7 separate regions of the Homo sapiens genome follow, and all the other regions are linked to region 2. Evidence: promoter capture Hi-C in 16 types of primary human blood cells and fetal thymus (Javierre and others, 2016). All regions are on one chromosome and are shown on one strand. The core of a region is centred on a gene start or on the middle of the fragment in contact, and the rest is flanking DNA. Distances in the headings are between cores, read along the strand shown.

What was found. Contacts are between HindIII fragments. The CHiCAGO score rates a contact against its expected background, and 5 or more counts as called.
Region 1: a fragment that was not itself captured here is called in contact with the fragment with the promoter of SMUG1 in region 2 in 1 of 17 cell types (erythroblasts); the score reaches 5.1 in erythroblasts.
Region 3: a fragment that was not itself captured here is called in contact with the fragment with the promoter of SMUG1 in region 2 in 6 of 17 cell types (naive B cells, naive CD4 T cells, total B cells and 3 more); the score reaches 7.8 in naive B cells.
Region 4: a contact is called between a fragment that was not itself captured here and the fragment with the promoter of SMUG1 in region 2, in 12 of 17 cell types (total CD8 T cells, endothelial precursors, M1 macrophages and 9 more). The highest score is 11.8, in total CD8 T cells.
Region 5: a fragment that was not itself captured here is called in contact with the fragment with the promoter of SMUG1 in region 2 in 2 of 17 cell types (naive B cells and total B cells); the score reaches 6.0 in naive B cells.
Region 6: a fragment that was not itself captured here is called in contact with the fragment with the promoter of SMUG1 in region 2 in 9 of 17 cell types (naive B cells, total B cells, naive CD4 T cells and 6 more); the score reaches 13.7 in naive B cells.
Region 7: a contact is called between a fragment that was not itself captured here and the fragment with the promoter of SMUG1 in region 2, in 3 of 17 cell types (endothelial precursors, M2 macrophages and M1 macrophages). The highest score is 12.1, in endothelial precursors.

The regions. Positions count from the first base shown.
Region 1 is chr12:53,813,415-53,816,704 of GRCh38, reverse strand. All of the region lies in intron 1 of LOC105378250 (a long non-coding RNA gene), which reads right to left. It also overlaps the pseudogene RN7SKP289. Among named protein-coding and RNA genes, the nearest start is that of CISTR, 63 kb to the right of the region's middle. The HindIII fragment of the contact is 753 bases long and covers 951-1,703 here.
Region 2 is chr12:54,187,332-54,190,689 of GRCh38, reverse strand. It overlaps SMUG1 (single-strand-selective monofunctional uracil-DNA glycosylase 1), which reads left to right and starts at 1,705. Exons shown (of 4, transcript NM_001243787.2): 1 at 1,705-1,739; 2 at 2,788-2,871. It overlaps LOC105369777 (a long non-coding RNA gene), which reads right to left and starts at 1,593. Exons shown (of 3, transcript XR_944984.2): 1 at 1,488-1,593; 2 at 156-242. The HindIII fragment of the contact is 2,636 bases long and covers 1,394-3,358 here.
Region 3 is chr12:53,697,118-53,700,327 of GRCh38, reverse strand. No RefSeq gene overlaps it. Among named protein-coding and RNA genes, the nearest start is that of ATP5MC2, 23 kb to the right of the region's middle. The HindIII fragment of the contact is 7,437 bases long and covers 1-3,210 here.
Region 4 is chr12:53,755,113-53,758,299 of GRCh38, reverse strand. The region is part of intron 1 of LOC105378250 (a long non-coding RNA gene); the gene reads right to left. It also overlaps a transcript of CISTR not described here. Among named protein-coding and RNA genes, the nearest start is that of CISTR, 4.7 kb to the right of the region's middle. RefSeq lists an enhancer at 857-906. The HindIII fragment of the contact is 201 bases long and covers 1,201-1,401 here.
Region 5 is chr12:53,910,699-53,913,966 of GRCh38, reverse strand. No RefSeq gene overlaps it. Among named protein-coding and RNA genes, the nearest start is that of HOXC13, 26 kb to the left of the region's middle. The HindIII fragment of the contact is 5,776 bases long and covers 1-3,268 here.
Region 6 is chr12:53,928,546-53,931,738 of GRCh38, reverse strand. No RefSeq gene overlaps it. Among named protein-coding and RNA genes, the nearest start is that of HOXC13, 8.7 kb to the left of the region's middle. RefSeq lists an enhancer at 2,899-3,193. The HindIII fragment of the contact is 2,446 bases long and covers 263-2,708 here.
Region 7 is chr12:53,772,254-53,775,244 of GRCh38, reverse strand. The region is part of intron 1 of LOC105378250 (a long non-coding RNA gene); the gene reads right to left. Among named protein-coding and RNA genes, the nearest start is that of CISTR, 22 kb to the right of the region's middle. The HindIII fragment of the contact is 3,173 bases long and covers 1-2,991 here.

The sequences.
Region 1 (3,290 bases), core at 78-2,577, 370 kb after region 2:
TAATACCCTATGTTGAGATGCTACTGCTCCATTATAACTGGTTCATTCCCAGTGTAAGCAGACTACAAAAGAAAAAGGTTAGAGTGTGGCATGACAGGACTCTCCAAGACAACATTTGGCCATGTATGGGAGAAGCCCAACCATCTGAGAGAGTGGTGAGAGCTTTAAATCTCACTCATGACCTCTTTCCCTAGGAAAGTAATTTGAGGGCTCACTATCCCCTAGGAGTTCTAGCCCCTGGAATCTGCTTTGTCATCCAACTTCTTGGTCTGGCCTCATCCTATGTGCAGACCTCACTAACACAGGGAGCTCGTTTGACAGTTTAGCAAGAAGGACAGATCCTTGTGTCTAACCAAAGAAAAGTGCTTCTCTGTTGTTGTTGTTTTTTAAAAAAAACTATGTAGCTTCAAGAAGGACATACATGAAAAGGAGAGGGAGGTAGGGACTCCCATCTAGTCAGCCAGGTCAGCCTGGAAATGGATGAAGTGAGAGATGTCAGAACCACACTTAGCCCTCGCCCCAACATGGAGCAGCAGAAAACAAGGCCCAGGAGGAAGACAGAATGGACTCCAAACTAAATGAGTCGGTTGTGTGCCAACTATCAAGAAGTCCTTTGCTAGTCATGCACAGTGGCTCATATCTGTAATCCAAGCACTTTGGGAGGCCAAGGCAGGAGGACTGCTTGAGCCCGGCAGTTTGAGACCAGCCTGGGCAATATAGTGAGACCCTGTCTCTATAAAAAAATTAAAAATTTAGCCGAGTGTGGTGGCATGCACCTGTAGTCCCAGCTACTTGGGAGGCTAAGGTAGGAGAATTGCTTGAGCCTGGGAGGTAGAGGCTTCAGTGAGCCATGATCATACCACTGCACCCCAGCCTGGGTGACAGAGCAAGACCTTGTCTCAAATAAATAAATAAATAAATAAATAGAAGTAGAAGTCCTTTGTTAAGCTTAATTTCAGTACCTCCAGCTTTAACTTATCTCTTTTTCTCTTATTTGGAAGATGAGACTAGCAACTAATAATATTCTCCTTCATTTGGGAACCCAGGAATTCTAAGATAGGTTATCAAGCCCCTCAGCCCCCTCTGAACTCAGCCCTCTCCAGTACCCTTGCTGTACTCTTCTCAAGGCTACCAGGCTGGGCCATGTGAGGAATTTTGAAGACAAGAAACATCCTAAGGCTGGGCTAGGTGGCTCATGCCTATAATCCCAGCACTTCAGAAGGCCGAGCAGAAGGATTGCTTGAGGCCAAGAGTTCGAGACCAGCTTGGGCAACATGACAAAACCCCATCTCTACTAAAAATACAAAAAAATTAGCAAGCCTGGCCAACATGGCGAAACACTCTCTACAAAAAATACAAAAATTAGCTGGGCATGGTGGTGCATGCCTGTAGTCCCAGCTATTCAGGAGGCTGAAGTGGGAGGGTCACTTGAGCCCAGGAAGCAGAGGCTACAGTGAGCAGAGATCGTGCCACTGAACCCCAGCCTGGGCAACAGAGCAAGATCCTGTCTCTAACAAAACAGAACACAAAATATGTACCCATTACTCAATATCTTTGGAGGGTTCACCCTACAAAAACAACTTAACATGGGCAAATACTGCAGGCTGATCTCCCCTGTAATCCATGCCCAAGCAGAGAGGCCAAATACTAGACTCCTGCTTTAGGTTCACTAAACCTATCTGTGACAGGATGGACTGAAAGCTTTGATCTAAAGTGGCTCTAGGAGGCCAGGTGCAGTGGCTCATGCCTGTAATCCCAGCACTTTGGGAGGCCAAAGTGGGTGGATCACCTGAGGTTGAGAGTTAGAGACCAGCCTGGCCAACATGGTGAAACCCCGACTCTATTAAAAATATAAAAACTTAGGCAGCCGTGGTGGTACACACCTGTAATCCCACCTACTCGTGAGGCTGAGGCAGGAGGATCACTTGAACCCTGGAGGTGGAGGTTGCAGTGAGCCAAGATCATGCCACTGCACTCCAGCCTGGGTGACAGAGCAAGACTCCATCTCAAAAATTAATTAATTAATTTAATTTAATAAAAATAAAGTGACTCTAGGAGACTTAAGAAAGGACACCTCTCCTGGAGGGACAGTTACAGGGTCACTAGAAAGAGTGGGACTGACCTCCATCAGCATATCCCCAAACAGTAGTGCTGAAAAGTCCTCTACCTTCAGCTTCCTCCCAAACATCGAACCCCCTAAAATGGGATAAGAAATCGTCACAACCATAATGCAGGATAAATCTCTCTATATGTTCCTACTTCAACCCCAAATTGTTAATTCCTAAACTCTGTGAACACTGGCACTGAAAAAGAATGGCTAAAATCTACTTGGTTCTGAAACGTATTATATGAAGCTTTGGTACAATATTCACCTGTTATATTTAGGCAGACATCAGATTGCTTTTCCTTAACACATGCTTGTTTAGAGCTGTGGAGGAGAAGCAAGCCTAAGGTTACAAATCCCCAGCAAAGATGTCACAGAATGGAAAAAGAAATAATTGACCATTTTGAAACAGCCCATTTCCTACCAGATTCTCACAGTGACTATGCACGGAGAAACCTGGACCTGCCACCATCCACCAGGGGCCAAGGCAGCCAGCAGTCCTTCCCGATAGCAAACACAGGGGCTGGGAGAAAGGAGGTATTATTTCCAGCCACTGCAGGCTTTCAGGACACAGAAGGGTCTATCCTCATAACGTTAGTAGCAGTGGAATCAATTCTATCCTTAAATCTGTTTTCAATTTGACTAATTTATTGAAGAAGGAGGCAATCAGGGCAGACACAGTGGAAATCTTCCTGATAGGAATGTGGGCCTATTAACCTCCAGGATCTCTTAGACTGATTGGTTTTAATACAAGCACAGAATCTGTTCTCTTTTGCAAGCTAGATTATAGGTGAGTCTGTCCTGAGGCAATGGGATTGGCAAAAAGACTCTCCTGCTTCCTCAGAGTTTTGAATCTTCTTGCTTAGGAGAAGCCAGATCCAATATCCAGGAGGTGAGGGCTGCAGTGTTATTTTACAAACAAGCCCTCCCTATATCAACGCCACTTACTGTACTGGAAGCCGGTATTAAGTGAACTGCTAGCGTAGTGCATCAAGGGCTTATTGAATATTGATTCCCATTTACGTGACAGCAAAATGGCCTAAGAAATCTTCTCCGGATGCCTCAGCCCCTTGATAAAGAGGGTGTTAGTTTTGTTTTATGAAGCTGGGATCCAGGCCAGTCACATCTTATAGCTCCACTTACTTTTATTTAATAAAAACAAGGGATGATATGAGTGAGGAGGGGG
Region 2 (3,358 bases), core at 456-2,955:
TTACATAAGTAGAGAGGGGCAAATAACATAGGCAGAGAGAGACACAGAGAGGGAGAGGATCTGGTAAAAATTAAAGCTCAGGAAATTATGGGCTTCATGAGGTGGATGATTAATTCCATTTCCAAAGTCTTGCAAGGGTCAGGGTAGTTTCTCACCCTTGATGTCAGCAGGTCACTGCTCACAGCTCCCTGAAGCTCCTACTGCACCCATTAAGTTTTTGTTGATAGGAGATCAGACAAGTCCTGGGAAGGGAATAGCATCCTTTTTCTCTCACTTCTTCCTGTTCTGGGGTTTATAGGTCTCCTTTTCTACCACTCACAGGGAGACCTTGCTTCTGTGATTAGAGCCTTGGCTGTGCTAAGGTGTGTGGAGATTGTGGGGTGGGAGGAATATAGAAGATAACTAACCTTAGGGGGTTCCCAGTCTAATGAAAGTTTTAGAGTCACGACACAGAACCAGACCCAGATAGAGCACAAGAACAAAACTAGGAATAGGACAGATTTGGACATAGATATTGGGATGGGGGAATGGTGGGGGAATGGACTGTTAGGTGCAGCCATGGGATGAGGATTGATCAGGGAAGCCTTCCTGGACAAAGTATTTGAGGGAGAAGATTTGGATGGAAGAGTGATAGCTAACTTTATGTGTCTACTTGAGTGGTCTAAGGGACACCCAGATAGCTGGTAAAACATTATTTCTGGATATGTCTGTGGAGTGTTTCTGGAAGAGATTTGCATTTGAATTGGTAGACTAAGAAGATCACCCTCATTAATATGGGTGGGAACCATCCAATCCCTTGGGGGCCAGTAGAACAAAAGAGTGGAGGAAGGCAAATTCTCTTTCTTCATGAGCTGGGACATCTATTTTACCTGCCTTTGGACATCATTGGAGTTCCTGGTTCTTCGTCCTTCAGGCTCTGGGACTTAGCAGTGAGCCTCCTCCCCTGCTTTGGACTTTCCTGAATTATACCACCTGTTTTCCTGGTTCTCCAGTGTATAGACAGCAGAGCGGGAGACTGTGGGACTTCTTGGCCTCCACAATCCTGTGAGCCAATTCTTGGAATAAATCTCGTCATATAGATAGATATCCTGTTAGTTCTGTTCTCTGGAAAACTCTTGACTAATACTGAGGTTATAGGGTTGGGCAGATAGCAAGGCAGAGAAAGAAGTCAAAATGGTGACACTCTGGAGATGGGCTTGGACAGTAATGGGGGATGCCCCTTGCTAAAAAGTTGTTAGGAGCTACCAGAAATGTCTTCGTGGATGTTCTGTATAAGTAATGGCAGGCTGCAAAGGAGAAGTCTCTTATACCCACGGTGGCAGGGGGCCTAGCAATGGTCTTTAGCTATTGTTAATACCTTCAGGTGGGTGAGGGATTGGGGATGGTTGAAGCTTCCTGATTTGCAATCCCTTTGGGAAAATAGTGAATGAACTTTTGGAAGGGCGATGCCCTTTAGGGATAGAACCCAGGATTTCCTAGGTACTTACAGGCTGTGGCTTTTCACTTCTCAAGACTTCCTGATTTAACGCTGATGGAAAGATTAAACTACAATTCCCAGCGATCTTTAGGGCTAATTTAGTGCGCCTTCCGGGATTGGAGCATTTCCGGCGGAAGTGGCTGCGGGTACGCCAATCTCCTTCCCTAAACAATGTAGACTACGACTCCCACTGTCCTTAGCGCCGGGGGTTGGGTTTGGGGTGGGGGAAAGGAACCGGAAACGGGATGGGGAGCTGGACCAGGTGAGGAAGTAGGGGGCTGGGAATCCGGGACTGTGGGGGCAAGTTGACGGCTCCCAGGGTCGTCGGGGCTGAGCCGAGAGGGTGGTTAGAATTTCTATATTTTGGGGTCCCTCCCTCCGTATGGGGTAAGACTCAGTGCAGGGAGAGCCCAGCCTATGAAACCGCCTGGGAGGTCTGCAGGATCAAGGCTTTCCAGTCGGCCGGAGCCAGCGGGCGCCCCCGGAGGTTTTGTATGGTGCCTTAGTAGTCGGCCCCTTTGGAACCAGATGAAATGGTCTTTTTGAGTTTATGCTTTATTATTATTATTGTTTATTTATTTATTTTTCTGAGACGGAATTTTGCTCTGAATTCCAGGCTGGAGTGCAATGGCGCGATCTCAGCTCACTGCAGCCTCCGCCTCCCGGGTTCAAGCGATTCTTCTGCCTCAGCCTCCCGAGTAGGTGGGATTACAGGCGCGCGCCACCATGCCCAGCTAATTTTTGTATTTAGTAGAGACTGGGTTTCACCATGTTGGTCAGGCTGGTCTCGAAGTCCTGACCTCGTGATCCGCCCGCCTCGGCCTCCCAAAGTGCTCGGATTACGGGTGTGAGCCACCGCGCCCGGCCTATGCATTATTATTATTATTATTATTATTATTATTATTATTATTATTATTTATTATTATTATTATTATTATTATTATTTCGTTTAAGGATATTTATTATTGTCCCTGGACTCCCGGAGTGCCTCCAAAGGACAGGGGAGTGCATATGTGATTTCGATTCCTTCCTCACTTCCCGGATTTGATGTCAGAGAAGTCTGACATCAGTCTGAAGTCGGCCCTTGGTGGTCAGCCTTATCGCTTGGTCCAACTCCGCTGTCTTTGTGCTTAATGTAGTATGACACCGTATTTTATAAAATATCTACATTTCTTAAGCCTCTGGCTCTTGGGGCGACTTTGGGTAGAACTTACAAGTTCCTCCTTTGGGTTCTCTTAGTGTTTTGTTCCGGGTATTAAAGCTCACATCACACTGTATTACAGTTAGTTGTTTATTTGCCCTCACAGCAGATTATGAGCTTACAGAAAGCCTGGCCTACATTTTACTCTTTTTGGATTTCTTCCTCATCAAGAGACTGCTGCAGTGCCTGTCATGTAAGAGACTCATAAGTATTGAAAAAAAAAATGAGTTAACAGGTGGTAGGTTGGATGGAGTATGTGATTTTCCATAGAGAAGAGAGTTAAATGAGTTGCTCAAGAGAACCTTCTTAGAGATGAAACAGGAGTAGAATTCAAATCAATTGACTTCCAGCCTGTGGCTCTTGCTATGAGATCAGGCTTTGAAGTTATGGAACAATGAAAGTAGTATCTTGCCACTCTTTTCCCCAGCCTTGCTGTTTCCAACACAGGTGTCTAAATGTCAAAGGTGGGCTCAAGACTTCTCGAGATTCTAGAGCTGGAGCAGCCAATCTGCTAATGTTGGTGTTGCATGGGGAGATGCAAAGCAAGGTCCCCTGAAACACTGGCGTTCTCCACAGCACCCTTCTCAGCTTTTGTATGAGCCCAGTTTGTCCTGGGTAGCCACCTGGACAACAGATCAGTTAAAGACTACTGAGACAGTCAGGGAAGGACTTCCTAAGTT
Region 3 (3,210 bases), core at 529-3,028, 490 kb after region 2:
AGTTCCTATTAAGTGTAGACTTTGTAATTTTTGCATTTGATTAAGAGAGGTGTGTATGTGCTTTCATGCAAGTAAGTGTATGTATGTATATGTATTCCTGCAAGTGTATGTATATATTGTTTTGTATCTGTGGATGTAAATGTGGATGAATCTGAAGGAATTCTCTGCTGTTCAAGCCTCTCTGAACAAGGGTCTGGGGTCTTGGTGTCTAGCTTAGTACAGGGAAATCTGTATGCAGCTCCTCTGAGGATTTCAATATCTTCTGTGTGTACAGACTACCCGGGAGTTAGTTCTTCTGGCTCCAGGATCTTTGTGCAGGATCCCAGGTTTGTCTGTCCCCATCCTGCACACAAGTGTGTTGACATATCAAGACTCCTCCACCTCCTTGCTTTCCTGTGTGCATCACAGTGTGTGCAGATCCATTTGTCCAACCAGCCCCACGTGAAGCCATGTGTGTCCAGCAGTCCCTCCTCCCAAGGAGGACTCTGTGAAGAGTCCTTGGCACCCTCCCCTCCTGGCCACCCCCACTCCCCACTTTCCATGCCAGGAGAGATCTAATTACACAGAAATTAGTACAGAAAAGGATCGTTTCCTTTTATTGCATCAGTACCGGGGCAGCTATAAATCTGGAGCCACCGCTGCAGCCGCCTCTGGGCACTGTGCAGGCTATGGGGGGCTCTCACCTCCACACCTTCCTTTTCTCCTGGGCCTCTACCCCTGCCCAGGACCTGAGAACTCTATTAGGTACCCATCTCAGTAGGGGAAGTGGAGAAAGGGGAGGGTGGGGTCAATCAAAAGAAGACACATAGTAGATGCTTAATAAATGTTCACTAAATGATTAGGGAGAGGTAGATCCCAGCAATGATAGTAACTACCCGACTACCTAGACCCAATCACCACGAGATAAATATTTCTAGTAAAATTTCTCTCAAAATTCTTAAGCTCTTACCAGACAGACTTCCTCACTTTCTTATGAACCCAGATGAATTATATGGAGCTATTAGTCATCCTGGCTTCTACTTTAGAGACCCTGAACTCCTTCTCAGGCAGCTTCAGGTGATGAAGACAGTCCAGGTTCAGATCTTGATTCTTCTGTTTACCACCTAATTGTCCTTGGGTATCTCCCAACCTGAGCTTTGGTTTCTTCTTCTGTGAAATGGAGGACATGAAACCTACCTCTCAGGTTGTTGTGAGGCATCAATGGGAAAGCACAATTAGTCGGGTGTGGTGGCATGCACCTGTGGATGCAGCTGCTCCAGGGACTGAGGCAGGAGGATTGCTTAAGCCCAGGAGGTCAAGGCTGCAGTGAGCCCTGATCCAGCCTGGGCAACAGAGTGAGACTCTATCTCAAATAAAATAAAATAAAATAAAATAAAATAAAATAAAATAAAATAAAATAAAATAAAATAAAATAAAATAAAATGGGAAAGCAGTAGACCAACAGGAAGGGGGTCCACTAATTTTTATTATCACTCTTAATGTCTTCCTAGCTACCACTTCCACTTCACCACCTTTACTTCTGCCTCCTCTTCCCCATCACCCTTTAACCTAGCCTATATGCCAACCAACCCCCACTCAAATAGGGGGCAATAAGATATGCAGGCAGGCTGTGCCCAACCTGGAATGAATGTTTCTATATGTTAGTGTCTTATCAGAAGACAGAGATGAGGCCAGGTGCGGTGGCTCATGCCTGTAATCCCAGCACTGTGGGAGGTCAAGGTGGGTGGATCACTTGAGGTCGGGAGTTCCAGACCAGCCTGGTCAACATGGTGAAACTCCGTCTCTACTAAAAATACACACATGGTGAAACCCCATCTCTACTAAAAATACACACACACACACACACACACACACACACACACACACATTAGTCGGGCATGGCGGCATGCATCTGTAATCCCAGCTACTCCAGGGGCTGAGGCAGGAGAATCGCTTGAACCTGGGAGACGGAGGTTGCAGTGAGCCGAGATTGCGCCACTGCACTCCAGACTGGGCGACAGAGCGAGACTCCATCTCAAAAAAAAAGAAGGAGGAGGAGGAGAAGAGGAAGAAGAAGAAGGAGAAGAAGAAGAAGATGAGGAGGAGGAGGAGGAAGAAGAAGAAGGAGAAGAAGAAGAAGAAGAAGAAGAAGAAGAAGAAGAAGAAGAAGAAGAAGAAGAAGAAGAAGAAGAAGAAGGAAGAAGAACAAGAACAAGAACAAGAACAAGAAGAACAAGAAGAACAAGAAGAAGAACAAGAAGAAGACAACAGAGATGAGGACAGGGGACTCCAACCATCCTCGGGCATCTGGAGGCAGTGTTTTACACATAGCCAACTGTCTCTAAGCTCATTCCTTGGCAGTAACTATTTTGATCTCCATTATTTGCATGGAGGGTGTAAATTAGCTCCTTGGAGTACTGGAGGGTCTGGTTGTAAATGACTGTGTAGAAAGAGTCCAGGATTTAGGGAATTAGGAGGGAGCAGGAGCTGGGGAATCAGGGTGGAGACTGGAGGCTTGAACTTATCCCGGAGCAAGGTCAAAGGGCCCTTTAGGGGATCGCAGAGACAGAAACCAAATGTCCGGGCTCCCAACTTCCTGCCAACCCAGTTTTCCAAACCCAAGGATTTGGGGTCTCCTCCCTCTTGCCCTCTCCTACACTGATGTCTCCAGCCCAAGGCACTCAGCCAGGAATTCTTGAATTTACTCCTATGTGGATAACCCTGAAGAGCTCTCAGTGTAGGTCAGCAAGTGAAGAGCCAGAGAAAGGAAGGGGTGTAACCCCCCACCACCCCACTGTGCTCAGATCTCCAAGCACCATTTGGGCAGGACCCCCTGCTCCCACACTTCAAGGGCAGGAGGAGCCGCAGAAGGAAGCTGAGGCCCTACGTCTGTTTCCAGCCTCTCACCCCCGATCTGCGTCTCAGGGAGGGTGAGGATTTGGCGTGAAGGGCACAGCGGCGTGGGGGGCGCGGATCTCTGGCCCCCATCTCCCCCCATCCCCAGCCCCGACTCAGGCTGCAGTCTCTCCTCGTTGTAGCAGCGCGAGAGCAAAGGGACGGGCAGTAAAGATGAGTGATGGCGCGGAGACAAGCAGAAATACACCATCATGAAAATGCTAATGACTCCTTGCTCTCTTTCTTTATGGTTGGAGTAATACAGACTTCAATCATAAAAACAATCTCCCAACATTTTAATGGGCTCCATCATGCCCGCACTTGTCGGTATATTTG
Region 4 (3,187 bases), core at 52-2,551, 430 kb after region 2:
GGAAGTGGGGCAGAGGAGGAGGAGAAATAGAGGAAGGCAGGCAAGGGAGGCATGTTCTGGGGAGGGTGCTGGGGACAGTCTTTGGTCAGGGGTCAAGGGGAGAGGAGTAAAGAGAGGTAAGGACTGAGGAGAGATCTGCATTTGAGAATAAAATTAGCAGCATGCAAAGGATAAGGGAGATAAGACACCAGTGACGCCCAATTACTTTGGGGTCAACAATTTAGACACCTACTGAGAAGCCATGACCGATGCCTTCAAGCAACTCTCTACTAACAGACCCCACAAATATATACATGAAACCCATGAAAGGAGAAACTGAGGCATAGAGTAGAGATCCTGAGACCACTGAATGTGCATGAATCTAGGTTTTCAGGGACCACAGATAGAGTAACCAGCCAAGTTTCTGAAGACCTAAGACTTAGCATGACAACCTGGACCCTGCCTTTTTTCCCCAGGCTTTCTTGAGGCTGAGGAAGTAGCTGAGCTCTGCAAAGACCAGCTCCCCCAGCTCCTCTCACGGCCGGGGAAGACCCTAAGAACATTAACTCAGGCAATCTAAGGGGAAATTATCCCCACATCCACTCCTTCCCTGCCAGCCTCATGCAAGGTCCAAGAGGCCAGATGTCCCAGGATAGACAGAGCCTAAGGAGTCTCCTTAGCAGCAGGAATAACTTTATCACAGCTTATCTGGGCCTCCCAGAGGTAAATTGAAAGGCTGCGAGGAAACAACTGAGGTCCCTACCTATTCCTACACCCATCCCAAAGGGGTATGGGTAGAAGGCCAGGGGACAGAATCAGAAGGACTTCACAACCTAGGAGAAAAGGAGAAAAGCCGGTTCCCAGGCAACAGCTAGGTCAGTCAGTAGCTGAAAAGACCCCCAAGGCAGCTGTAGCTCTCTGTTCCTCGCCTGAGTCTCTCAAGCCTGCAACCGGGAAGCTCTGCAGTACCAGAGAGGGCCGCTAGGGAGTGCTCGCCAACAGCCAGGCTCCAGAAAGGAAGCAGCCGGCCAAGCCAAGAAGACCGGAAGGCAATCGATCAGAGTCGCCCTGGCAACCGGGCTGAGCCCGAGACAGACAGCACGTCGATAATGAAATCATCGTTAAATGACTTCAAGCCCTAATTAATAATCCAGGCCAACCGAGGCCATGCCTGACTGGGGTCGGGGGAGGGGATGTCATTGTTGGGGAGCACTGGAAGCTTCTGGACAATTAATCAATTAATCCACTCACTCAATAATTGGCTCCTTTGTCCTCTGCCATGCCCCTCCCCCACCTCATCCACCTCTGACTGTGGAGAGGGGAAGAAGAGATGTTGGGCTAATAGTTTCCAAGGGCCACAGTTCCTCCCTCTCCCCTCCTTTTTATCCACACATCTGTTTCCTGAGCCAGCTCACAAAAGCTTCCCTAAGTCAGGACTTGCCTGCGCTCTTCCACAGGACCTACCAAAGAGTGAACATTTCAGGACCCGGAGTCCCCTGCTATCCAGGTACCTCCCCAGATCCCCTGCTCCCTACCCCACTTCCTCCCATCTCATCCCCCCTCCCCAGTACACACACACACACACACACACACATCACTGACCCACAGCCCACTCTGACTCTGACTGAGGAAAGAGCACTAAACAGTGAATCATGAGAGTTAGCTAAATCCCAGCCACACCAGCTCACCACTTACATACATAACCTTGAGCAGGTTACCTGCCCTCTCCAAGGCCTCCATTTCCTCATCTGAAACCTGAAAGAGGCCAAGTGCAGTGGCTCACGTCTGTGATCCCAGCACTTTGGAAGGCTGAGGCAGGAGGATCGCCTGAGCCCAGGATTTCAAGGCCTAGCCTGAGCAACATAGCAAGACCCCCATCTCTATTTAAAATAAAATAAAACCTCAAGGGATCCAACTGATTTCCAAGGTTCCTTCCTGTGGTATCATCTATTATTACAATAATCAGATCTTTTCCCACTCCTCTCTACTCCGTTCTCTTACTTTGGGGAGGTAAGAGGGAGATTGTAAGGAGTTCCAGGTCCTCATTTATCAGGTGCTTCATCCCCAAAGAACTTACCTCGAGAGCCAGAAAAGGGGATGGTAGAAGAGTACATGGAGGGAAGGCTCCCCCAGCCCATCCCCCACCTGGCCGGTCCTTCTGGCCCTTGCCACCCACCTTGCTTATTGCTCTCCACAACCCCCAGCAGGAAATGAAAAGGCCACAGGAAATTGCGCTTTAAATCCCCTAGCTCCTGGTTCCCTCCACCAAGCCAGGGAGCTGGGGGCAGGCTAACTTCACAGACCAGGCTTTCTCTGTTTGTAATTAGTAAGACACTTAGGAGGAGAAAGGGGTCCCTGCAAAAAGAGCCCCTCTCTCCAAAACAGCTAATCAGGTTATCCAAAAAACTGGTGCTGGGGAAAGCATATGGGATTTGCAGAGAAGAAAGAACCAGAGGATCTTGGGCAAGATGAAGACAGCTGGTGAGACATGGACTGGATAGGTAGGTGGTAGCCTCCTTTCTGGGAGAGGTGATTTATAGCGCCACCTGAGGCCAGGAGAAATGGTGTGCAGCCAAAGGCTGGGATGGGCAAAGAGCGTAGAGAGGGGACCCTCCAGAGACGCCCTGCAGAGAGGACCAGGGAGCAAAACCCACCAGGTCCATCCCACCCCTGTGGACACTTAAGAGGTTAATAAAGTTCAGAATGTTCAGGGCTTACTGTAATTAAAGCCAGGAGCTGGGTCATTCCATTTCTTCAAGTTCCATCTTTTACTTTCCCCTCCCCGACATACACACATCTTTTACAAAAGACATTGAGCCAGATCCTGGACTTTAGATAATACCTCCACTAAAGAGGTGGGCTTACTGTCAGCAAAAGAAATGTAGAATAGACTTTAGAAAGGATTTCCTTTGAGTTAGGGTTGGTAAATGCTAGGGAAAATGAAATGATATAGAATCTCCAACAACACATTTCCTACCACACACACACACACACACACACACACACACACACCCCAAACAGGAAAAGGAAAGCCGTCTCTCAACTGCTATTCTTTTTCTAGGGGATTGGCCTCCAGGTGATGTGTCTCACATCGTGGGACAAAACAGCCTCTCTAAATATTAGGAAAATAACTCCCGTCCCACCCTTCACTCCAGAAGGAAGATGATTGTTTCCCTCTCCAGATCTTGGCAAATGCCCTGCTCAAGGA
Region 5 (3,268 bases), core at 480-2,979, 280 kb after region 2:
AGCCTCCCAACGTGCTGGGATTACAGCCCTGAGCCACTGCGCCTGGCCAGAATAGATGCTATAATATGAGATAAAATTGACTTTAAGATACCTAAAGGGCCAAGTGCGGAGGCTCATGCCTGTAATCCCAGCTGACACTATGGAATGGTAGAATGGTCTAATGAAGAGAGTTACACAGCCAGCTGGAAGACAACACCTTGTGAGGCTGGGGTGCCGTCTTACAAGACCGAGTGTGTGAGCCATATTTGACTCCTGCTCTTTTTAGCCTTTCCAACAACTCTGTAAGCATCAGATTCCCTGTAGTAAATTCCTTTCTGCTTGAAATATCTAGAGTTGTTCTTGCACTAAGCCCTGACTGAATCATGTAATGATTAAGACAGTGTAGTATTTGCACAGACCCTGTTCTAAGTTATAACTTCTCATTTAGACTATAGCAATAAACCCTTAACCAGTCTTCTTGCTTCCATTTTTGCCTCCTGGATATTATGATAGCAGTGATAATGAATCTTTGATAGTCAAATTGACCAACTTAAAAGAATAGAGAACCCAGAAAACAGATCTGTGCTGTTTAAATCTGATATCTGACATTTCAAACCAGTGAGGGAAAGCCTACTCATGGGCACAGGGAGGGGAGAGTTCAATCTTTTTCTCTCACTATATAAAAAAATTAATTCCAAATGGATTAAAGACCTAAACATGAAAAAGCAAAAGCAGGCCAGGCGCGGTGGCTCACACCTGTAATCCCAGCAATTTGGGAGGCCCAGGTGGGTGGATCACCTGAGGTCTGCAGTTCGAGACCACCCTGGTCAACATGGTGAAATTCCATCTCTACTAAAAATACAAAAATTAGCTGGGCATGGTAGCAGGCACCTGTAATCCCAGCTACTAGGGAGGCTGAGGCAGGAGAATTGCTTATGCCCGGGAGGTGGAGGTTGCAGTTAGCTGAGATTGCATTATTGCACTCCAGCTTAGGCAACAAGAGTGAAACTCCGTCAAATGAAAAAAAAAAAAAAGAAAGAAAGAAGGAAGGAAGGAAGGAAGGAAGGAAAAGCACAGAACCTTTAGAGGAAAATATATGAGAATTTAAGGCAAGAAACATTATGCTAGTGACTTTCAAATTTACATCTCTATCTATTCCCTAAACTCCACACTCATATATTCAACATTCAGTTCAGAATTTCAACTTGGCTGGCTGGGCAAGGTGGCTCACACCTGTAACCCCAGCACTTTGGGTGGCCAAGGCAGGGGGATCACTTGAGGGCAGGAGTTCAAGACTAGCCTGGGTAACAAAGCAAAACCCCTTCTCTACCAAAAAAAAAAAAAAAAAGTTTCAAATTAGACCTCTAATAGGCATCTCAAAATTAGCATGATCAAAAACAAAGTATGCATTTTACCACCAAAACTTCTCCTCCTGCAACGTTCCCATTTAAGAAAATAGTGCTAACATCCTCATCAAATCCATTGGAAAATCTTACTAGGTCTAACTTCAAAATATATTGTGCATTTTTTCATCTATCTATTGGCCATTTATATGTCTTCTTTTGAGAAATGTCTATTCATGTCCTTTGCTTTTTTTTAATAGAGTTTTTAATTTTCTTATTATTGAGTAGTTTGAGTAGTTTGTTTTCTTATTATTGAGTTCCTTATATATTTTGGATATAAGCCCCCATCTGATATATGATTGGCAAATATTTTCTCCCAATCTATGAGTTGCCTCTTCACTGTGTTAATTGGTTCCTTTATTGTACAGAAACTTTTAAGTTTGATGCAATCCCATTTGTCTGTTTTTGTTTTTGTTGCCTGTGCTTTTGGGGTCATGTTGTATAGTGTGAATCTGACCACTTCTCACAATTTTCTCTGCTACTGCCCTGGTCTAAGTCACTATCGCCTTTCATTTAGACTATAGCAATAAACTCTTAACCCATCTACATGCTTCCGTTTTTGCCTCCTGGATGTTATGATAGTGGTCATAATGAACATGTGAAAAGTAAATCAATTCCCTGCTTAACATCCTCCAGTGGCTTCTCATCACAGAATAAAATCCCTGGTTACTTCTCTAAGTAAGCACTTACCGCTCTTCCCCTTATGTATGCCAGTTAGCTACACTAGCCATTTTCTCGACTGTTCTATAACCCATCAATCACGCCAACATCTTAGGGCCTTTGGACTTGCTGTTTCCCCTGCCTGGAATGTTCTTCTCTTTAGATATTCCCATTTCTTGCTCCCTCATCATATTCTGTTTTCTGCTGAATGTTACCTTCTCAGGGAGGCCTTTCCTGACCACTCTAACAGAGCAGCCCATTGGTTTCTCTTTATCTCTGTATCTTACTTTCTCTTCATGTTTTATTTTCTATTTATCTATTGTTTATTGTCTCTCTCCCACACTAGAATCTAAGTCATTAAGGTTGGGTCTTTTGTCTTACTCACAGTTGTTTCTGCCAAGCCTAGAACAGTACCTGGCACAAAGTACGCATTCAGTATATTTGTCAAATAAATAAGCAAATGAGGGAATAAATGAGAAACCTGTATGACCTTGGAATAGGAAATATTTGCCTAAACACGACACAGAAAACAAAATCATAAGGAAAAGTTTGAAAAAATTTGATAAAATTAGATTAAATACTCTTCATTCTTTTAAAAACACCATTAACTATCACTGCTATATAAGTTGCAGACTGGCAGAAGGTATTTACAATGCAGATATTAGACAAAGTATTAACATTCAAGATATGTGAAGGACTCTAAAAATCAATAAGAAAAAGACAATTCAATTTAAAAAAATAATGAGCAGGCCAGGTGCGGTGGCTCATGCCTGTAATCCCAGCACTTTGGGAGGCCAAGGTGGGAGGACTGCTTGAGCCCAGGAGTTCAAGATAAGCCTAGGCAGCATGGTGAAACCCCTTCTCTGCAAAAAGTGCAAAAATTAGCTGGGCATGGTGGCACGTGGCTGTGGTCCCAGCTACTGGGGAGGCTGGGGCAGAAGGATCACTTGAGCCTGGGAGTTTGAGGCTGCAGTGAGCTGAGATCACACCACTACACTCCAGCAACAGAGTGAGATCCTGTTTCAAAAAAAAAAAAAGAGCAAAGGATATGAACAGGAAAGTCACAGAGGAGAGGAAATCTAAAAGGCTACTAAAATATGAAAAGATGTTCAACTCTCAGAAAATCAGAAAAACACATGTTAAAAATGGGAATAATGCCAAGGCAGGCGGATGACCTGAGGTCAGGAGTTCAAGACCAGCCTGACCAACATGGAGAAACCCCATCT
Region 6 (3,193 bases), core at 236-2,735, 260 kb after region 2:
TAATGAATTTCCCTCCAAAGAAGAAATACAGATTTATTCCTCTTATCTATTATAGACTTATTTCTAGACAAGAAAGTATGTAATACATGTTTTGTTTGGTGTTATAGGAACTTCAGATAAATATTAACATAAGAAATGTGTCCTCAGATACCCATATCCATATAATTAGGATTACCTTATTATCCATATAACAATCTTACAATTTTTAAAAAATAATATATTCTTTGAATATGACAACATAGTTATGTTTAATGAAAAAGCTTAAAGGCTTTAATTGTGTTTATGCTCATGCTGAGATGGGGGGAGGCTTGACCAACGTATAGTTCTGTGGGTAAAGATGTGTATTAGTACAGATGCTTTGTTAATGCATTTCCATTCATGTTGTTTTCTAATGCAGTCAGCCATTAAACGGAAATGGTATGTAGGTATATGTAAGTGCAGAGATGCTTTTTAGAGTTGTATTTTTAATAGATAATAAAAACACCATGTCTAAGAGAATAAAAACACCATGTCTTTGCTGTTGCTCCCAGACAATTCTCTGGGAGAATTTTTCTCTTAGGCATCATTTAGCGGCATTGTGCTCCTGAAGCCAACTTGCCGTCTCGCCAAACTTGGCAGGACGGGGGCGTTGGCTCTGTTCTTTCAGCGCAATTTTCTTCCACGGATTTTGGGATTCGGGTCGTTTCCGGCGCCTGGATGGCGATTCCGCTCAGCCTGAGGAGTCACCGCCGCCTGGCTCCGCCAGGAACTCGGCGCCAGCATCTAACTCCTTCTCTTCCTTTTCCTGTGGATTTCTCCCACGACAGAGAGTTCCTTAGTTTATTTTAATATGCTGGTTTTAAAATTTTACATATAGTAATTGTTTAGTATTTTATTTCACTAACCCAGACCAAGTTTCTTGGCGAAAGCCCTTCCCCACAAGACAATAAATGGCCGACCGGAGAGCGGCAGGATGAGTGCCCGCACTAGGAAGCGCCCGCGACACTACCTGGCGCCAGAGCAGGTCCAGTGGGGCAGGCATAGTCACACACGCAATCCTGACTGATGCCCTGTGTGCACGTTATGTGCACCTATTGCTGAGCACACAGGTGGGTACATTTATTTGTGGGGGTAGGAGAGACTCAAGTAAGTTCCTGGAGAGCTCTGAGTGTGTGGGTAGACAGCGGACTCACCCTAGGGCCTGGGCATTCATGAGCATGCTTGTGTGAACCAAGAATCAGCCTTCCCTTTCTTCTCCCCTCACAGGTCCCTGTGGAAAGGGGTCCTCCCAAATGGGGAAACAAAGGAATAAAAAGACTATTTTCTGTGGTTTATGCCCAGTTTTGGGGTAGGAAAGTGTGACAAAGATAATCATACACCTATAAAGATTTGTCAAAGAAGGTTGAGTGAATCTCGGGCTCAAAAAGAAATGTGGGGAAGTAGGAGGTGGTGGGCAAGGGCTGGGAACCAAAGGGAAAGAAACCATGATAATAGACTTCTGAAAAGCTGGTTAATCTTAGCTGGAATAACGGCAAAGGAAGAAAGCAAACTATTCAGCTCTCAGGAATCTTATTATTAATTTTGATGTGGCTGTGTATTTGTTGTCATTTGCTGAATATAATACATATGAAATGGCATGGTTATGTCTTATACAGAAGCCTACAATGACAACATGCACTCACAGTTGGTCATGTTTCAAATCTACTTCTAAACTTGGTGCACTGGGGTCTACAAATTTCCTATTTTAAGTCTTATCTTTAAAATGCTCTGTACTTTAAGTAGTAGGGGCAAGGTCATAAACAGTGGTGAATTTTTCCTTCCAAATATTACCAATAAGAAAAGCGGATTCACTACCTTTCAAAGTTTAGCCTCACCCTCACCCTTGAAAAAAGTTTCCCAAATGTGGTTAATCCTGGGAAGAAGAAAGCCCAACCAACCCTCTCCCCGTCAAACATGACTGCTCCTTGATCCTTGATGACTTGATCCTTCAGGATGTCTAGCTCTGAGTTCAGCCTTTAGGAAAGTGAGTTCTTTGCAAGGTCCGGAGACACCCACTGCAGTCTCCTGGCTTCTCTGGGCTCACTCCTCAGGCTGTGAAGCCAACAGGGGATCTCAGATGCTCTGCCAGTACACCTGGAAGACAAATCTGAATTTGCAGTTTCAAGTCGAGTTTCCACCTGAAGGCTATGTGGGTGATGCCCCAACTTCACTTTGCAAGTGCATATTCAGCTTAAAAACTATGTGGAGGAGACTGGTCCTACCCAGCTATGATCTTCTTGGAAAAAAACAAAGAACAAACAAACAAAATGGAGCCCAAATATTCTTTCTGCCAAGAAATAAAATTTTTCATAGACACAAGTAGAAACCCATGTTTGTTCCCTCTTCTCTCTCTCTCATGTATATACACACATATATACACACACACATATATGCATTTTGGTGACTTGATCTAACTCTACATTTTATCACAACAGATACAATATCTTCCAGGAAATAATGCCCAGGAAGGCAACTCTATCTTTCTACACAAGGAAAAATGCACAGAAGACCCATTTCACCATCTTGGAGCGCTGTTCTCTATTAGATTTTCCTTGTTTCTCTCTCTTTTTACTGTCCAGCGATGATGAGTCTCCACAAACAATCAGAATTTGCATTTTCCTGAATTATTCAAATAATCGAAAGGTGAGTGACGGGAGGAGGACTTATCTGAATTATTCGATAATTAAGCTTTCAGGATTTTTATTTTATTTTATTTTATTTTTTATAATGCAGGATTAGCGTTATTCCCTATCCCCAACCTCAGGGAGAACCTTGAGGCTGTAAACCCGCCTCACACAGTGGAGCCTGGAGAATGGGGTCCATGCTATTTGAACAGGGAACATGTTTGTAATAACTTCAAAATCTACCTTGGTTACAAATACCTAGGACAGTAAGGAACATCCCCACCCGCCGCACCTCCCTCTCCAACATTTCTTCAACCTTTACTTGGTAGCTTCAGCATCAAGTATCAAAATCTGTGGGGGAGAGTACTCTTTCTCCATGTCGAAAGGCACCTCTTCTTGCACTCCCTGACCTAGCCAGCTCTAACCTGCGGGCTTATTCTGGGGGAGCTTCAGAGGAAAAGCCGGGGATGAGGGTCTTAATCTCGCTCTAGATCTTTACTTGCAGAGAGATGAGTTACATTGTTTAATTTTCTTCTCTACCTGGGCCGTTC
Region 7 (2,991 bases), core at 228-2,727, 420 kb after region 2:
ATAACCATGGCGTACGCAGTGCACCAACAGCTCTAAATGCAAACAGTTCAAAACACGTAAGAAAAGGTAAACTGTATAAAAGCCATCATGAACACAGGGTCTGAGTTATATATCCAAGGTCTAGAAGAAATTAGTTAAGGCCAAACAAAAAACAGAATCTTCTCATATTCTCTTTCTGTGTGTGCCTTCTCTAGAAGTCTATGTCTAGTCATGGTCCCTTATTCATTCATTCAACAAATATTTACCGGTCCTCAACTATTCAGCACTGGGGATACAGCAATTAAAACACACACACAAAAAAATCCCTCCACTCAAGTCACTTACATTCCAGCAAGAAGAAGCAAACAACAACAAGTAGTAAGAATACATATTGTGTTAGGCCGGGCGCAGTGGCTCACGCCTGTAATCCCAGCACTTTGGGAGGCTGAGGCGGGTGGATCACGAGGTCAGGAGATCGAGACCATCCTGGCTAACACGGTGAAACCCTGTCTCTACTAAAAATACAAAAAAATTAGCCAGGTGTGGTGGCGGGCACCTGTAATCCCAGCTACTCGGGAGGCTGAGGTAGGAGAATGGCGTGAACCCAGGAGGCAGAGCTTGCGGTGAGCCGAGATCATGCCACTGCACTCCAGCCTGGGTGACAGAGCAAGACTCCATCTCAAAAAAAAAAAAAAAAACAGAATATATATTGTGTTAGATTGTGGTTTGTGCTGTAAAGTAAAGCAAGTAAAGGTTAGGATGTGATCAGGATGGGAGTTGAGATTTTAAAACAAGTGGTCCAAGAAGGCCTTGCTGAGATGACACTTCACCAGCAGCCAGGAGCAGGTGCAGGAAAAAGCAATGGTGCAGATCTCTGAGAAGTGCAAATATAAAGACTCTGGCCATTGTTTATAGTGGTAAAATGTACATAACATAAAATTTACCATTTTAACTGTTTTTAAATGTGGCATTAGGCCAGGCATGGTGGCTCACACCTGTAATCCCAGCACTTTGGGAGGCCAAGGCGGGCAGATCTTCTGAGACCAGGAGTTTGAGACCAGCAAACATGGCAAAACCTCATCTCTACAAAAAATAGAAAAATTAGCCAGATGTGGTGGCAAGCGCCTGTAATCCCAGCTACTCAGGAGGCTGAAGTGGGAGAATAACCTGAGCCTTGGGAGGTCAAGTCTGCAGTGAGCTGTGATCATGCCACTGCACTCCAGCCTGGTGACAGAGCAAGACCTTGTCTCTAAAAAAGTAAAAATAAAAGTATATAAGGCAGGGCGCAGTGACTCACGCTTGTAATCCCAGCACTTTGGGAGGCCAAGGCAAGTGGATCACAAGGTCAAGAGATTGAGACCATCCTGGCCAACATGGTAAAACCCCATCTTTACTAAAAATACAAAAATTAGCTGGGCGTGGTGGCAGGCACCTGTAGTCCCGGCTACTTGGGAGGCTGAGGCAGAAGAATTGCTTGAACCCAGGAGGCGGAGGTTGCAGTGAGGCAAGATCGTGCCACTGCACTCCAGCCTGGGCAACAGAGTGAGACTGCGTCTCATAAATAAATAAATGCAGCATTAAATACATTCACATGAGGGTCAATCATCGTCACCATCCACCTCCAAACCTTTGCCATCTTACCCAACTAAAACTCTGTGCCCATTAAACATTAAATTCCCATTCCCTCCTGCTCCCATTCCTTAGAAACCACCACTTTACTTTCTGTCTGTATGAATTTGACTATTCTGGGTACCTCATATAAATAGAATCATACAATATTTGTCTGCTTGTGTCTGGCTTATTTTATTTAGCATAACGTCTTCAAGAGTATCCGTGTTGTAGCGTGTATTAGAATTTTCTTCCTTTTTTAGAGTGACTAATATTTCTCTCTATGTATATACCACATTTTGTTTATCTGTTTGTTTGTCTATCTATCAATAGATGCTTGGGTTGCCTCTCCCTTTTGGCTATTCTGAATAATGTTACTATGAACGTGGGTGTACATATATCAATTTGAGTCCCTGCTTTCATTTCTTTTGGATATATTCCCAGAGGTGGAATTTCTGGGTCATATGGTAATTCTAAGTTTACTTTTTTAGGAATCACCAATTTACTGTTTTCCACGGTGGCTGCACCATTTTACTTGCCAACCAGCAGTACACAAAGGTTCCAATTTCTCCACATTCTCGCCAACACTTGCTATTTTCTGTTTTTTTAATAATAGCCATCCTGATGGGTGTGGAATGGCACCTGACCATCTTGGGCTGGCACAGAGTGAGATAGGAAGAAGTAGTCGGGGATGAGGTCAGAGAGAAATCAGGAGGCCGGATCATTCATGGCGGGCCATAGAGTCACTGTGAGGACTTTGACTTTCACACTGGGTATCATGGAAACCCTAGATGAAGTGGCAGTTTTGCATATTGGCTACTGATTGTCATGTTCTTTGAACTAAGTATTTGGTTCTCAAACTATGGAACAGGCCTCCTCCAGAGTTTAAAAATACAGCATAGAAATGGGTTCTGCAGAGTTCTCCACAGACATCTCATGGTTCTGACAAAAAAGTGAGAGCTAAACAAGCTGAGGCCCTCTCCCACCAGCCTCCCTCTCCAGATGCCATATACCCACCCATGGAAGAGTAACATGATGGATTACTTTCATCCAGATTGTTCACTTCATGGATTATCTTTAGCCAGGATTCAATCACTTAAAAAAAATAATAATCTTCGTCTCATTCACTATTTTGGATTATCTCCTCCATTTTTCTTGGTAACCAAGAGCCGATATGGAGATGAAGGATACTTTTTCCCAGAAACTGGTGAAATTAAGGACTGCAAAGACAAAGGCAGGTAGATTCTCAGAAAAGGGGCAGGAGCAATGTGAATCAGGCACTCACCAGCCTTGCAAAATTAAATAGATGAATTCAGTCCCAAGCCCTGGATGCCTCAGCAAGGATTGTCAGAAATGTCTGAGATGATCAGAGCTAGGGAGAGAAAGGGCCCCAAAGGGAAGCCT